2 separate regions of the Homo sapiens genome follow, and region 2 is linked to region 1. Evidence: promoter capture Hi-C in 16 types of primary human blood cells and fetal thymus (Javierre and others, 2016). All regions are on one chromosome and are shown on one strand. The core of a region is centred on a gene start or on the middle of the fragment in contact, and the rest is flanking DNA. Distances in the headings are between cores, read along the strand shown. Region 1 holds the start of RPS25 (ribosomal protein S25). Region 2 holds the start of TAF6L (TATA-box binding protein associated factor 6 like).

Evidence for each region. The method cuts DNA at HindIII sites, captures the fragments that hold promoters and counts their contacts. A CHiCAGO score of 5 or more calls a contact.
Region 2: the fragment with the promoter of TAF6L here is called in contact with the fragment with the promoter of RPS25 in region 1 in 1 of 17 cell types (fetal thymus); the score reaches 7.6 in fetal thymus.

What each region holds. Positions count from the first base shown.
Region 1 is chr11:119,012,264-119,019,871 of GRCh38, forward strand. RPS25 (ribosomal protein S25) reads right to left here and starts at 6,080. Exons shown (of 5, transcript NM_001028.3): 1 at 6,019-6,080; 2 at 5,695-5,790; 3 at 5,099-5,282; 4 at 3,578-3,676; 5 at 3,454-3,495. The coding sequence starts at 6,021. The coding sequence ends at 3,582. It overlaps TRAPPC4 (trafficking protein particle complex subunit 4), which reads left to right and starts at 6,503. Exons shown (of 5, transcript NM_016146.6): 1 at 6,503-6,707; 2 at 6,880-7,054. The coding sequence starts at 6,533. It overlaps CENATAC (centrosomal AT-AC splicing factor), which reads left to right. Exons shown (of 11, transcript NM_198489.3): 8 at 969-999; 9 at 2,731-2,820; 10 at 3,044-3,176; 11 at 3,275-3,530. The coding sequence ends at 3,335. RefSeq lists enhancers at 5,802-5,871, 5,892-6,121, 6,376-7,074 and a silencer at 6,362-6,481. The HindIII fragment of the contact is 1,015 bases long and covers 6,012-7,026 here.
Region 2 is chr11:62,767,978-62,775,585 of GRCh38, forward strand. It overlaps TAF6L (TATA-box binding protein associated factor 6 like), which reads left to right and starts at 3,419. Exons shown (of 11, transcript NM_006473.4): 1 at 3,419-3,513. It also overlaps a transcript of TMEM223 not described here. RefSeq lists enhancers at 1,657-1,706, 3,869-4,008 and a silencer at 3,269-3,678. The HindIII fragment of the contact is 6,431 bases long and covers 3,070-7,608 here.

The DNA of each region.
Region 1 (7,608 bases), core at 4,830-7,329:
ATAAGCAAGCCAGAAGAGGGCCAATGGTCCCTCAGGTCTCAGGACCCCTTTCTCCTGATTTTCTACCTATTCAAGCCACTGCTGCCTCCACTGCAGGCTTTTCCTTCTTCCTTCACTGTTCCCTAGTAGTGTTCTCAGACCTCTTCTCACCCTCCAAAGCGATCCTATTCACATGTATTGACACTTAGGAGTGCCAACTCCTAAATCTTGCCCTCTGTAGAACTCATAGTTCCAACTCAACACAGGACATTAAATATCCCACAGGCATCTGAAACTAACCCCCACCACTCCTATATTTCCAATCACTAGATGCAGATCCTTTCCTTTTCCATCTCCCATATCCTGTCAACAAGCGGTCAATTTTAACCTGTCTGCCTCCATTCAGCCTTTGGGCAATTTCTACTCCCCCTTCAATCCTGCCTCACAAACAGAAAATCATTGTACCACTTATGATTTTACTCTACACTTCAGCTGTATTGTGTTGCTTCGGGCTTTTGCAGTTGCCATTGTCTAAAACCTGCTTTCCTTCCCTCATCACCTAGTTTACCTTCAACTGTTAGCTCAAATGTCACTTTTTCATAAAAGGCTTATCTGAACAGGTTATCTCTATTTCAAGTGGATGTAGCACCATGTAAAGTTGCAAATGTAATTTACGTAACTTGTGCTTAATGCTCTTCCCCAATTATATGTATGCTGTGAGGGCAAGGTTTTGCTCCCCTGGCATGTAATAGCCACTCTACTTACAGACATCTCCACTGTTATGACTGTGAGCTTCCTGAGGACAGGGTTGTCTTAGAGTGACTTACTGTGCTTTCAAAGTTTAACATCAGCTGGGGTGCAGAATTAGCATTGTGGCAGCAGTCACACCCACCTCTTTTAAAGTGTGCTTTGTCTATCGTTTCTAGGATTTTTTTTTTTAATCATGCCTAGACTTTAACTAGCACTTTTTTTCCCATTTCCAACTACAGGATATACCAGGAGTTGGTAACATCCACTCAGGTAAGGTCCAGGGCAGTGTTTTTAAAACCCTGGGAGATTTTTTTTTTTTTTTGAGATGGAGTCTTGTTCTGTCGCCAGGCTGGAGTGCAGTGGCGCAATCTCAGCTCGCTGCAACCTCTGCCTCTCAGGTTCAAGTGATTCTTCTGCCTCAGCCTCCCAAGTAGCTGGGGTTACAGGTGTGCACCACCACACCCAGCTAATTTTTTTTTTTTTTTTTTTGAGACGGAGTCTCGCTCTGTCGCCCAGGCTGGAGTGCAGTGGCGGGATCTCGGCTCACTGCAAGCTCCGCCTCCCGGGTTCACGCCATTCTCCTGCCTCAGCCTCCCAAGTAGCTGGGACTACAGGCGCCCGCCACTACGCCCAGCTAATTTTTTGTATTTTCAGTAGAGACGGGGTTTCACCGTTTTAGCCGGGATGGTCTCGATCTCCTGACCTCGTGATCCACCCGCCTCGGCCTCCCAAAGTGCTGGGATTACAGGCATGAGCCACCGTGCCCGGACTTTTTTTTTTTTTTTAAATAAAGTTGGCCAAGATAAAGCGTATGTATCGGTAAAAGCCTTATATCCAGAATATATGAAGAACTGTCAACTTGATAAGGAAACAACCCAATAAAAGCATATGAATAATGTTCAACATTAGTCATTAGAGAAATGCAAATTAAAACCACAGTGAAATACCACTACATATGTATTGGAATGGCAGAAATTAAAGACTGATCATGCCAAGTGTTTGGCAGTGTAGAAAAACCAAACCTTCATACACTGCTCTTAGAATGTAAACTGGTACAGTCACTTTGGAAAACAGTTTGGGATACACCTACCACATTATCCAACCGTTCCACCCCTAACTAGAGAAAAGAAAGCCTGTCTACATAGACTTGTACACAAATCTTCAGAACAGCTTCACTTGTAGCAGCTCCAAATTGGAAACAATTCAGATGTCTATCAACAGGCAAATGGATTAACAATGGAATAGTATTCCAGGATGAAGACAGAATTATTGATACGTACGACACAGATGAATCTCAGAAGTCCAGACCTGGCCGGCGTGGTGGCTCATGCCTGTAATCCCGACACTTTGGGAGGCCAAGGCAGGCGGATCACGAGGTCAGGAGTTCAAGACCAGTTTGGCCAACATGGTGAAACCCCATCTCTACTAAAAATTCAAAAATTAGCTGGGCATCGCAGCGCACGCCTGTAATCCCAGCTACTTGGGAGGCTGAGGCAGAATTGTTTGAACCGAGACCTGGGAGGCGGAGGTTGCAGTGAGCTGAGATTGTGTCCAGCCTGGGCTAGAGCGAGACTCCTCTCAAAAAAACAAAAGGCCAGACCCCACCTCAATGTCCACACACAGAAAATCCTAAAAAATACAAACCAATAAAGCAACTGAAAGATCACCGATTGCCTGGACATGAAAATATTTTAATGGGGGCAGTGATACTTACAGGGGGATGTTTGGGGTCTAGATTGTAATGGCTTCGCTCAAAAGTCACCAAATTTAAGTGTGTATCGTTTATGTCAGTTGTGCCTCAAAGCCATTTTAAAATGACTGTCACATATGGGGTATGTCGCTTTAAATTAGCCTAGGGCCTTCTAAAGCTCCAGAATTCCTGGGCTTTGCTTTTAGACATTTCTAGCTCTTAATGAGGAGAGGTAAGCTAACAGCTAGGACATGTTTCACAATAGCCTGAAGACTTAAAAAAAAAAAAAAAAGCCTTAATTTTTTTTTCAGGTGCCACACCTCCCTGGATGATCCAAGATGAAGAATACATTGCTGGGAACCAAGAAATAGGACCATCCTATGAAGAATTTCTTAAAGAAAGTAAGTAAACTAATTCAAGAGAGGATCGTCTAAATCTTCACACTCAAAAATGGTTTCCTTGCCTGTGTGTGGTGGCTCATGGCTATAATCCTAGCATTTTGGGAGGCTGAGGTGGGAGGGTCACTTGAGCCCAGAAGTTTGAAAACAGCCTGGACAACATAGTGAGACCCCATCTCTATATTCTTCAATAAAGAAAAATAAAAGTTTCCCTATCATTGTACAGAGGAAAAACAGAAGTTGAAAAAACTCCCCCCAGACCGAGTTGGGGCCAACTTTGATCACAGCTCCAGGACCAGTGCAGGCTGGCTGCCCTCTTTTGGCCGCGTCTGGAATAATGGACGCCGCTGGCAGTCCAGGTATGTGTGTTCAGTGCCGGGTCTCCAACCTACCCATCCAACCTCCTTTTTGGAGATGTCACCCTTCATCATCGTGTTAACCCTTTATTTCCTTTCAGACATCAATTCAAAACTGAAGCTGCAGCAATGAAGAAGCAGTCACATACAGAAAAAAGCTAATCATGCTCTCTACCAACTACCATGAGGCTAAAAGCAAAGTCAACAAACCCCTATTATACCTTCCACCAAATTCTTTATCATTGTCTTTCTTAGGAAACAGACATACTCATTCATTTGATTTAATAAAGTTTTATTTTTCCAAATGTACAGCTGGTTGGACCTGTAAAAAAAAATTAAAAGAATCAGAACCATAAAGCTTTGTATCTACCTCCTACACCATGAGCCCACACATTCCTACTCACCTATTCATGCATCTTCACCAGCAGCTGGAGCATCTCCACCCTTGGTATTTCTGGTGTAAATTACTTGAGCTCTGTGCTTTGAAACCAGTTTGATAAGTCCTAGGGGGAGAGAATAGCACGATGAGATGCTTAACAGATGCTACAATAGAAACTAGTAAGGTTTTTGGCTGGGCGCGGTGGCTCATGCTTATAATCCCACTGCTTTGGGAGGTGGAGACGGGCAGATAGCTTGAGGTAAGGAGTTGCACACCAGCCTGGCCAACAAGGTGAAACCCCATCTCTACCAAAAATACAAAAATTAGCTGGGCATGGTGGCACATGCTTGTAATTCCAGCTACTTGGGAAGCTGAGGTGAGGACCACCTGAACCCAGGAATTGGTGGTTGCATTGAGCCAAGACTGCCCCTCCGCACTCCAACCTGGGCAACAGAATGAGACTCTAGTAAGGTTTGTTTTGGCCGGGTGCAGAGGCTCATGCCTGTAATCCCAGCACTTTGGACAGGTGGATCTCTTGAGCCCAGGAGACCAGCCTGGGCAACATGGCAAAACCGCATCTCTATTTAAAGAAAAGGAAAACAAAAAGACAGAGTTCTCTCAGAGGTGCCCAGAATGGTCTTAAAACTCCTTGGCTCAAATGATCCTCCTGCTTTGGCCTCCCAAGTAGCTAGAAATACAAGGGTACCACTGCACCTGGCTCCAGAATTGCTTAATCTGACGTTCGGTAACCGAGAATCCTAGTTTTTAACGATCATCTATCCTTACTTTTCCTTTAAATTAGGGCTCCATTATCTTCCACCCCCCCCCCCTTTCTGAGACAGTCTTTTGCTGTCACTAAGGCTGGAGTGCAGTGGTGTCATCTCGGCTCACTGCCACCTCCATCTCCTGGGTTCAAGGGATCCTCATGCCTCAGCATCCTGAGTAGCTGGGATTACAGACGTGTGCCCCCACGTCCAGCTAACTTTCAGTAGAGCAGGTTTTCACCATATTGGCCAGGCTGGTCTTTAACTCCTGACCTCCGTTGATTCACCCGCCTTGGCCTCCCAAAGTGCTAGAATTATAGACGTTCAGTCACTATAGTTAGCTGAGCCTTATTATTGTGGAATTATGGTAATCAGACCATACTACTGAGTAGACCGTACTAAATTTCTGGTTTTAAAATTTAATACATCAACAAAATATTTACCATAAAGGTTTTAAACATTTTCAAAGTTGTTTCAAAATAGTAATCTAATTATTTCAAAAACGGTTGTCCCTGTAATTCTATGCATCCATTTACTCGAAACATAAAAGATCCTTGGGCTTCACTAAACTGCCACAGGGTCCACGGCACAAAAGTGGCTAAGAACCCTGAGAATTCATCTCAGGATCAGGAGTAAGACGTCAGAATTACATTACTAACAGCCAATGGTCAAGCCACGCTTTTTTTTTTTAATTCTGCTTTTCCAGCAAAACCACTGAAGATGCTTAACATGGTCAAGACAATTTAACCTACAAAAACACACATGTAGGATACACCCCTCACCTTTACTAAGGAGCTCCTGAAGGGCTGCCCTGGCCAGGGAGCCTCGAATCTTCAGTCTCTCAGAGACCACAGCTGGGGTTATAAGTTTATAGTTGGGAACTTCCTTACAGAGTTTATCATAGGTAGCTTTGTCAAACAAGACTAAGTTATTGAGCTTGTCCCGAACTTTGCCTTTGGACCACTTCTGCTCACCAAAACAAAACAGAAACAAGTTAGTATTTCTGGCAGAAGCACCCTTTCCCTCTCGAGTAATCTGCGTCAGAGAAATCTGTTCCACCGTTATCAAGGATAAATTACACATTACTAAAACAAAAACAAAAAAAAAACACCGACACGTTTTTGGCCTTCAAACAGGGGCCGAGCCCCACTAGATCAGTTAAAAATAACACAGCAGGCACAGCGGCAGACACTTCGCACAACAGACCCATTTTCATGATCCTAATGGGAAAAAGAACGAGTGGTGACGGGAAGATAAACTCTCACATTTTGACTCTAGAAATCTACACCTGAAAAACCACTTACTATACAAGTTACCTATTACTAGAGGATTACGAGAGAGTTACCCCTAGTCTCTTTCAGAGAGGTCTTATTTCTACCTTCTTTTTGGCCTTGCCCCCGGATTTGTTCACTGGGTCTTTGTCTTTCTTGGCCGACTTTCCAGCGTCCTTCTTCTTCTTGTCGTCCTTAGGCGGCTGTAGGAGGGCAGCGGGAATGCAACCAGGTCCTCAAATAGCGCCAAAGTCCCCTAATACTGCGCCCTCAGCCCCCGCAAACTCCACCACCAGAGCACATGGGCCAAGCAATAACCGCGCCCGCCCTGCAACCGAGGCCGGCAGGCCAAGGAGCGCTCCCGCCGAAGGCTCTCCCCACTGAGTCCTCAAACCCAAGAACGCCGGCGACTTCACACCCCTGAAGCTTACCATTGCGAAGCTCGGAGAATAGCAGCAGACACCGCAGCCTCGTCAAGATGTCGGACAAAAAGGAAGCGCTGCTCAGAAACGGGCCCAAAAACCACCGTCCGCTGTGAGTACTTCCGGGGCAAAAGGCGGAGCCAGGCAGAAGAAGTCCCACGGCGAAGCGCTCGCCCTCTAGCCTGAGGCGGAAGACAGGAAGTGGATTCTAGTTCCCAAGCCGCACCGCCTAAATACTGCCGGAGTCTGCGCTAGTTGTGACGCATACTATAGCGCTGTTTTCCTGCACTGATAAACGAAAAGCAATCCACCAGGTCTCGGCAGCTAACTTTCCGGCACTACTTATGCCCGAGCGTGTCGCTCCCAGTGCGCAAGTGCAGCAGGTGGCTGCACGGGGGGCGCGGGAGGAGGAGGAGGAGGAGGAGGAGGCTGGGGTGGGGCCGGCGGCAAGTGCTGTGATGCGGTTCCGGGGAGGGGCCGTCGGGTAGAGGCTGAATACCAGTTTCCGAGCGGCAAGGCAGCGATGGCGATTTTTAGTGTGTATGTGGTGAACAAAGCTGGCGGCTTGATTTACCAGTTGGACAGCTACGCGCCACGGGCTGAGGCTGAGAAAACTTTCAGTTATCCGCTGGATCTGCTGCTCAAGCTACACGATGAGCGTGTGTTGGTTGCTTTCGGCCAGCGGGACGGCATCCGAGGTGGGCTAGGCTCGGGCCCGTGGCGGGTGCGGGGGTGGGAGGGCCCCAGTGCTGTAGAAGTGGGCTGGTTGTAGGTGCGGGGTTGGGGGAAAAGGGGTTGTGTCGGGTCCCTTGTCCCCTCGGCGGAATCCCCGGGCTGCACCTTCGCTGACCGTTAGCTTCACCTCTGCAGTGGGTCATGCAGTGCTGGCCATCAATGGCATGGACGTGAATGGCAGGTACACGGCCGACGGGAAAGAGGTGCTGGAGTATCTGGGTAACCCTGCTAATTACCCGGTGTCCATTCGATTTGGCCGGCCCCGCCTCACTTCTAATGAGAAGCTTATGCTGGCCTCCATGTTCCACTCGTAAGTCCCCCGTCTCCTGAACGGCAGCGCTTGTAATTTGTCTACCTTTTCTTAAATCGTCGTTCTGGTGTTATGAAAAACGCAACCGATCCAGATCTAGATTTTAGGTAATAACGGCAGTGGTGTCATCTTTTTTTGCTGGGTGGGGAGGGGCCGCGGAGTTACCCAGGCTGGAGCGCAGTGGCGGGATCTCGGCTCACTGCAGCCTCTGCCTCCCAGGTTCAAGCGATTCTCCTGCCTCAGCCTCCCGAGTAGCTGGGATTACAGGCGCGTGCCACCACGACCAGCTAATTTTTGTATTTTTAGTAGAGAGGGGTTTTGCCATGTTGGCCAGGCTGGTCTCAAACTCCTGACCTCAGGTGATCCACCTGCCTCGGCTTCCCAAAGTGCTGGGATTACAGGAGTGAGCCACCGCGCCCGGCCGAGGTGTCATCTTACTTAAAGTCAACTTCTCTTCTCTGAGCCTTAGTTTCTTCATATTTAAAGAAAGCCAGTTTAACTAAATGACCTTTAAACTTTTTCTGCTCTCAATTGTGATATCAGATGTGCCGGCC
Region 2 (7,608 bases), core at 2,169-4,668, about 56 Mb before region 1:
TAAAAAAAAAAAGGAAAAAAAAAAAGCCTGGCACTCTAGTGGGGAAGGGAACAAGTGGGGATGCCCTGGAGATGGTTTCCAGAACTCTTCTGAGCTTTTTTTTTTTTTTTTTTTTGAGACAGAGTCTCACTCTGTCGCCCAGGCTGGAGTGCAATGGTACGATCTTGGCTCACCGAAACCTCCGCCTCCTGGGTTCAAGGGATTCTCCTGCCTCAGCCTCCCAAGTAGCTGGGATTACAGGCATGTGCCACCACGCCCAACTAATTTTGTATTTTTAGTAGAGACAAGGTATCTCCATGTTGATCAGGCTGGTCTCAAACTCCTGACCTCAGGTGATCTGCCCGCCTCGGCCTCCCAAAGTGCTGGGATTACAGGCATGAGCCGCCGCGCCCCGCCTCTTCTGAGCTTTTAAGGTTGGTACTAAGGGATTCTGAAAGTTACAGCCTCCTAAAGCGGTCACAGGCTAATAGAGTACCATGTGCTTGGCAACATGCTAAATCCTTTACACACTTTTCTGAATCTTCACAACAGTTCCATGGAGTAGATTTCGTTATCCCGCTTTATAGTTGATGAGACAGGTCAGACAGGTGAACTAATATGCCTAAGGTCACACAGCTGGTGAGCTGTGATTTTTTAAAAACAGTCTGGGCTTGTTGTGGTGGCTCATGCCTGTAATCCCAGCACTTTGAGAGGCCGAGGTGCGCGGATCACTTGAGGTCAGGAGTTTGAGAACAGCCTAGCCAACATGGCAAAACCCAGTCTCTACTAAAAATACGACAATTAGCCAGGTATGGTGGTGCGTGCCTGTAATCCCAGCTACTCAGGAGGCTGAGGCACAAGAATCGCTTGAACCGGGGAGGTGGAGGTTGCAGTAAGCTGAGATTGCTCCACTGCATTCTAGCCTTAGCAACAGAGCAAGGACTCTGTCTCAAAAAAAAAAAAAAAAAAAAATTGGCCGGGCATGGTGGCTCATGCCTGTAATCCCAGCACTTCGGGAAGCTGAGGCGGGCGGATCACAAGGTCAGGAGTTGAAGACCAGCCTGGCCAACATGGCGAAACCCCATCTTTACTAAAAATACAAAACTTACAGCACTTAGCCAGGCATGGTGTCGGACACCTGTAATCCCAGCTCCTCCAGAGGCTAAGGCAGGAGAATCACTTGAAACTGGGAGGGCAGAGGTTGCAGTGAGCTATCACGCCACTGCACTCCAACCTGGGCGACAGAGCGAGACTCAGTTTCAAAAAATAAATAAAAATAAAAATAAATGAATAAAAACAGTCTGACTTTGACCAGGCACAGTGGCTCATGCCTGTAATCCCAGCACTTTGGGAGGCAGAGGCGGGTGGATCACAAGGTCAGGAGTTGGAGACCAGCCTAGCCAACATGGTGAAAACCCTGTCTCTACTAAAAACACAAAAATTAGCTGGTGGTAGTGGCAAGTGCCTGTAATCCCAGCTACTTGGGAGGTTGAGGCAGGAGAATCATTTGAACCTGGGAGGTGGAGGTTGTAGTGAGCCAAGATTGCGCCACTGCACTCCAGCCTGGGCAACAGGGTGTTACTCCGTCTCAAAAAAAGGAAAAAAGAAAAAAAGTCTGACACCAAAGCCATCATAGTTCTTGCCAGGCATTGGGTGTGTGGAGCGAGCCACCTTTCTCCCATCTGTGGCCATGGAGGTCTCACTACTGCCTTCCCTGGTTCCTGCCTCCACTCAGATTGGGAGCAAATGAGCTCCAGACAGGTTGGATACAGGTTCACTACATCTAATAGGTCCCGGGCAGTCCCGGTCTCCCTCCCATCTTCTAGTGTCTCCAAGGTTGCTGATGGCTGTCCAGAACAGTAAACCTAAGCAAGGAGGTCAGCCAGCTGCCCAGGTCTGGCTAAGCTGACTTCAGGCTCAGTCAGACCTTAGAGGAGAGCGCCCTCTCTCTTTCCCTTAACGCACAGGTGGGCAGACACTTGAAACCACTTCTAATATGGTTCTGAATATGAGTGGAAGAGACTCAGCAGGGTCACATTCTCCTTAGGTGGGGTTGCCATGGCAACCACAGTCGCATCCATCTGGCTTTGCCAGCTCGGGTCCCAGGGGATTTTCTTTTCCAGCGGCAGCAGCATCTAACCCTGAGAGGGGGAAAGAGAAAAAATGTGTACATTCATGCTCCCTTGCAGAATGTTCCCACAGTTCACTCAGTGCAAACTACCCCATCTTGGGTGAACTTAAAGGAATTCACTGTATGCCTTGTGACATGTGAGGGAAAGAAAGTTTCTCTCTTTTTTTTTTGAGACGGAGATTCACTCTTGTTGGCCAGGTTGGAGTGCAGTGGCGCGATCTCGGCTCACCACAACCTCCGCCTCCCGGGTTCAAGCAATTCTCCTGCCTCAGCCTCCCGAGTAGCTGCGATTACAGGCATGTGCCAACACACCCGGCTAATTTTGTATTTTTAGTTGAGATGGATTTTTCTCCATGTTGATCAGGCTGGTCTTGAACTCCCGACCCCAGGTGATCCCCCGCCTCGGCCTCTCAAAATGTTGGGATTACAGGCGTGAGCCACCGCGCCCGGCCGGGAAAGAAGTTTAACCTCCAACTCTGCCAGGGACTCTCACAGACATTAATTTACAACAACCCTGTGAAGTGCGCATTATTACTCCATATTAGGTAATTTGCCCAAAGGCAGTGTCAGAATTTTAACCCAGGTCGGTCTGATTCCAAATACCATCCTTTACTCACTAAGCCCACTGCTTATCAATTAAGAACTGCCCAAGTAGCTGCTATTGCAGTGGGAGTTGGAGAAAGAGAGCTGTCAGTGTGCGTGTCCAACGGTCATGCAAGGCGAGGTAGGCCAGGGCTTGTATTTGGTTCACAGGCGTGGGGAGAATGCGAAGTAGGTGCAGAAAGAGCAGAACCCTGGAGTCCGGAGCTTGCACGGGATGTTCGGCCGGGTCAGAAGTCCCTTCTGCCTGCCGAGAACACCTACCGAGAGCCCCATCTATCCCTTCAGGAAGGGGAAGTGGCATGTGATGTTGGGGAGGTAGGCCGGGCAGGAAAACTAAGCCAGACACCAAAATCTAAAGCTTTGCTGCAGTCGCGAAAATGCGGGTGCTCAGAAACTCGCGAGCAAACAAGACAAAGAAAATCAAGACGCTGTCTTTGAGACTGTTTATTTCCTCGTTACTATTGTGGTGGTAAAAAAAATAAAATATGCTTATTAAACGTGTGTTAAAACAATACACACCTACTCGCAAACGTAGCAAGAGAGGTTGCTTTAAGAAGCGGGAATCTTCAGCGTCACGTGACCGCCGGTCTCTACAGTCTGTTCACACTGGCCAATCAAGAGCCAGGAAGCCTCCTGGAGGGCCGGAAACTTTCCAAGGCGCCCGCCGACTGGCTGTATTGGGGAGGGCGGGGCCGGGGCCCCGGGAGAGGGAATGAGTGTGAGCTCGTGAGTGGGCGCCGCCGCCACCGCCCCCGCCGCCGTCGTCTCGGTAGCAGCCTTCGCCACGCCGGGGTCTTCAGGTGAGCAGGCCTTGCTCTGGTCCAAGGACTCCCCATTCCCGACGCCGACTGCTTACTCACCAGTCTTGGAGCCCGCACCGCGAGGGCCCGCCCCCTTGGCTGACCACGTGACCCAAGTTCAGTGACCCCTGACCTCCTCCCCCCGCGCACCCCCTCCCCGATCTGGGCTGGGCTAGGCCGGGTGGGAGGATGCGCGTTGCCGAGGCCCGGCCCGCGGAGGTCAGTTCCCACGCCTCCTCTCCAGCGTGACTAGTGGCTGAGGATGCGGAGGAGAGGAGGCTGAGGAGCGGGAGACTTTGGTCACAGTCTAGATTTCGTGTACGGTCATATAATAGGGAAACTCCCTCCGTGCCTTTCGCGCTGGTGGACTAAATGCTCCCATTTTACAGATAGGGAAACTGCAGCTTCACAACGATCTATTGGCGGGTCTAGGGTCACCAAGGGGTGGGTCTCCAATCCATGTCTTTGGGGTGGGATCCAGGCCTTGTTCCCCATACAGCTGGCGGCTCCTGAATGCGGTATAGAGTAAAGATTAGGAGCAAGGGGTTGAGTCCTTGCTCCCCCTCCCTACTTACTCAGTGCTTACTTCATGATCTTGGAGAAGTCATGGAACATTTAGCCTCTGAGGTTTGATTTCCTTGCCTGTGAAATAGACGAAATACATAATAATATCTTATTATTGAGAATATAGTGAAGTAATCCATATAAAGCACTTAGCTGTGTCTCAGGCATAGTACAGTGCTATTCGTGGCCGGGCGCGGTGGCTCACGCCTGTAATCCTAGCACTTTGGGAGGCCGAGGCACCTGGATTGCCTGAGCTCAGGAGTTCGAGGCCAGCCTGGGCAACACGGTGAAACCTCGTCTCTACTAAAAATACAAAAAATTAGCTGGGCATGGCGGCGTATGCCTGTAGTCCTAGCTACTCGGGAGGCTGAGGCAGGAGAATTGCTTGAACCAGGGAGGCAGAGGTTGTAGTGAGCCGAGATCACGCCACTGTACTCCAGCCTGGGTGACAGAGCGAGACTGTGTCTCCAAAAAAAAAAAAAAAGCTCGTCGGGCCAGGTGCGGTGGCTCTCACGCCTGTAATTTCAGCACTTTGGAGGCCGAGGTGGGCGGATCACCTGAGGTCAGGAGTTCCAGACCAGCTTGGCTACCATGGCGAAACTCCATCCCTACTAAAAATACAAAAATTAGCCAGGTGTGGCGGCACAGGCCTGTAATCCCAGCTACTCGGGAAGCGGAGGTTTTAGTGAGCCGAGATCAAGCCACTGCACTCCAGCCTGGGTGACAGAGTGAGACATCAGACATCATCTCCAAAAAAAAAAAAAAAGAATAGTTCTTCTTTCTTTCTTTTAGAAGATCTTTTTTTTTTGTTTGTTTTTGTTTTTTGTTTTGTGTTTTTTTTGAGACTGAGTTTAGCTCTGTCATCCAGGCTGGAGTGCAGTGGTGCAATCTCGGCTCACTGCAGCCTCTGCCTCCTGGGTTCAAGTGATTCTCCTGCCTCAGCCTCCTGGGTAATTTTTTGTATTTTTAGTAGAGACAGGGTTTCACCGTGTTAGCCAGGATGGTCTTCATCTCCTGACCTCGTGATCCACCAGCTTCGGCCTCCCAAAGTGCTGGGATTACAGGCGTGAGCCACCATGCCTGGCCTATAATTACAAATTTTTTTTTTTTTGAGATGGAGTCTTGCTCTGTCGCCCAGGCTGGAGTGCAGTGGTGCGATCTTGGCTCACTACAACCTCCACCTCCCGGGTTCAAGCAATTCTCCTGCCTCAGCCTCCGGAGTAGCTGGGACTACAGGCGCGGACCACCATGCCTAGCTAATTTTTGTATTTTTAGTAGAGACGAGGTTTCACCATATTGTCCAGGCTGGTCTAGAACTCCTGACCTTGTGATCCACCCGCCTTGGCTTCCCAAAGTGCTGGGATTACAGATGAGCCACTGCGCCCGGCCTACAATTTTTTTTTTTTTTTTGAGACGGAGTTTTCCCCTTGTTACCCAGAATGGAGTGCACTGGTGCGATCTTGACTCACTGCAACCTCTGTCTCACGGGTTCAAGCGATTCTCCTGCCTCAGCCTTGCGAGTAGCTGGGATTACAGGCATGTGCCACCACACCTGGCTAATTTTGTATTTGTAGTAGAGATGGGGGTTTTTCTATGTTGGTCAGGCTGGTCTTGAACTCCTGACCTCAGGTGATTCGCCCGCCTTGGCCTCCGAAAGTGCTGGGATTAGAGGCGTGAGCCACTGGGTCCAGCTACAAATTCTTACGACTGGTTTGGAGGCAGAATGCAAGGACATTGGAGGATCTAGGAAGACATCCCTGAGCAAGTGACATTTGAACTGAAATCTGAAGGAGTGAGTAGCAGTTCACTAGACAAAGGGATTGGGGGTGGAGGACAGGGAGGAGAGAGTTCCAAGTGGAGGAAGCAGTGTTCAAAGGTCCTAAAATAGGTGTATTTGAGGAACTGAAAGGAGGACACAGGTGGGAATACAGAACACAAGAAAGTAGGAGATAAGAGGTAAGAGGTATTGCAGAAGTAGGCAGTACATGCAGAGCCTCCAGAGCCATTGTTCAGATTTGTTCTTTATTTCTTTTTTTTTTTGAGACGGAGTCTTGCTCTGTTGCCCAGGCTGGAGTGCAGTGGCGTGATCTCGGCTCACTGCAATCTCCGCCTCCTGGGTTCACGCCATTCTCCTGCCTCAGCCTCCCGAGTAGCTGGGACTACAGGCGCCCGCCACCAAGCCCAGCTAATTTTTTGTATTTTTAGTAGAGATGGGGTTTCACCGTGTTAACCAGGATGGTCTGGATCTCCTGACCTTGTGATCCGCCTGCCTCGGCCTCCCAAAGTGCTGGGATTACAGGCGTGAGCCACCGCGCCCGGCCCAAATTTGTTCTTTATTTCAAAGACAATGGGGAGCCATTGGGAGGAGTGCTGCACAGAAGCCACATAGCTGTCCATTGGATGTAGGGACCTGGACGTCACTGGTGACCCATTGATCCCCTGCCAGAGGAGTAGTGGGGGCAATGCCTGGGTGGGTCATCCTGGATCTGGGCCTTCCTGTCTGAGGTGTGGATGCATCACTTTGGCGCACGGGAGCCTACCTTCTGGTGCTGTGCGTTGTTGGAGTGAGTCATCAGCTGCTGTTTTTGTCGGTTTCTTATTGTGCTATACCCTGTGAACAAAACAGGTTCCAGCATTTAGGCACTGCAGCCAAACTGGGGAAGACCAAACACATAGGCAGAAAGCCCAGCTACTATCCAGCCTGGCCAACATGGCGAAATCTTGTTTCTACTAAAAATACAAAAATTAGCTGGGCGTGGTGGCACGTGCCTGTAATCCCAGCTACTTGGGAGGCTGAGGCAGGAGAGTTGGGGGCAACAAGAACAAAACTCCGTCTCAAAAAAAAAAAAAAAAAAATTTAGCCATCCGGGCGTGGTGGCAGGTACCTGTAATCCCAGCTACTCAGGAGGCTGAGGCAGATAATTACTTGAACCCGGGAGGCGGAGGTTGCAGTGAGCTGAGATCGCGCTGCTACACTCCAGCCTGGCGCCAGAGCGAGACTCTGTCTCAAAAAAAAAAAAAAAAAAGAAAAGACTGGGTAATGTATAAAGGAAAGAGGTTTAACTGACTCAATGCTGGGGAGGCCTCAGGAAACTTACAGTCATGGTGGAAGAGGAAGCAAACATGTCTTTCTTCATGTGGCTGCAGCTAGGAGAAGTGCCGAGCAAAAGGGGGAAAAGCTCTTTATAAAACCATTAGATCTTTTGAGAACTCACTATCAGGAGAACAGCATGGGGGAAAATGTCCCCTTGATTCAGTTATCTCCACCTGGTCCCGCTCTTGACACGTGGGGATTATTAAAATTCAAGGTGAGATTTGTGCGGGGACACAGCCAAATCATATCAGTCATCTCATTTTCACAGCAACCCTGTGAGCTAGAGAGGGCAGGAATTATTGTGCCTGTTTTACAGTTTAGGACACAAGGGCTCAGACTGATGAAGGCCTTGGCCAAATTCACATAGAAGGTGACAGGGCAGGAATGGGACCTAGTTCTGTGAACCCCAACACTTTGGACTTTGTCTAGCTTCACCG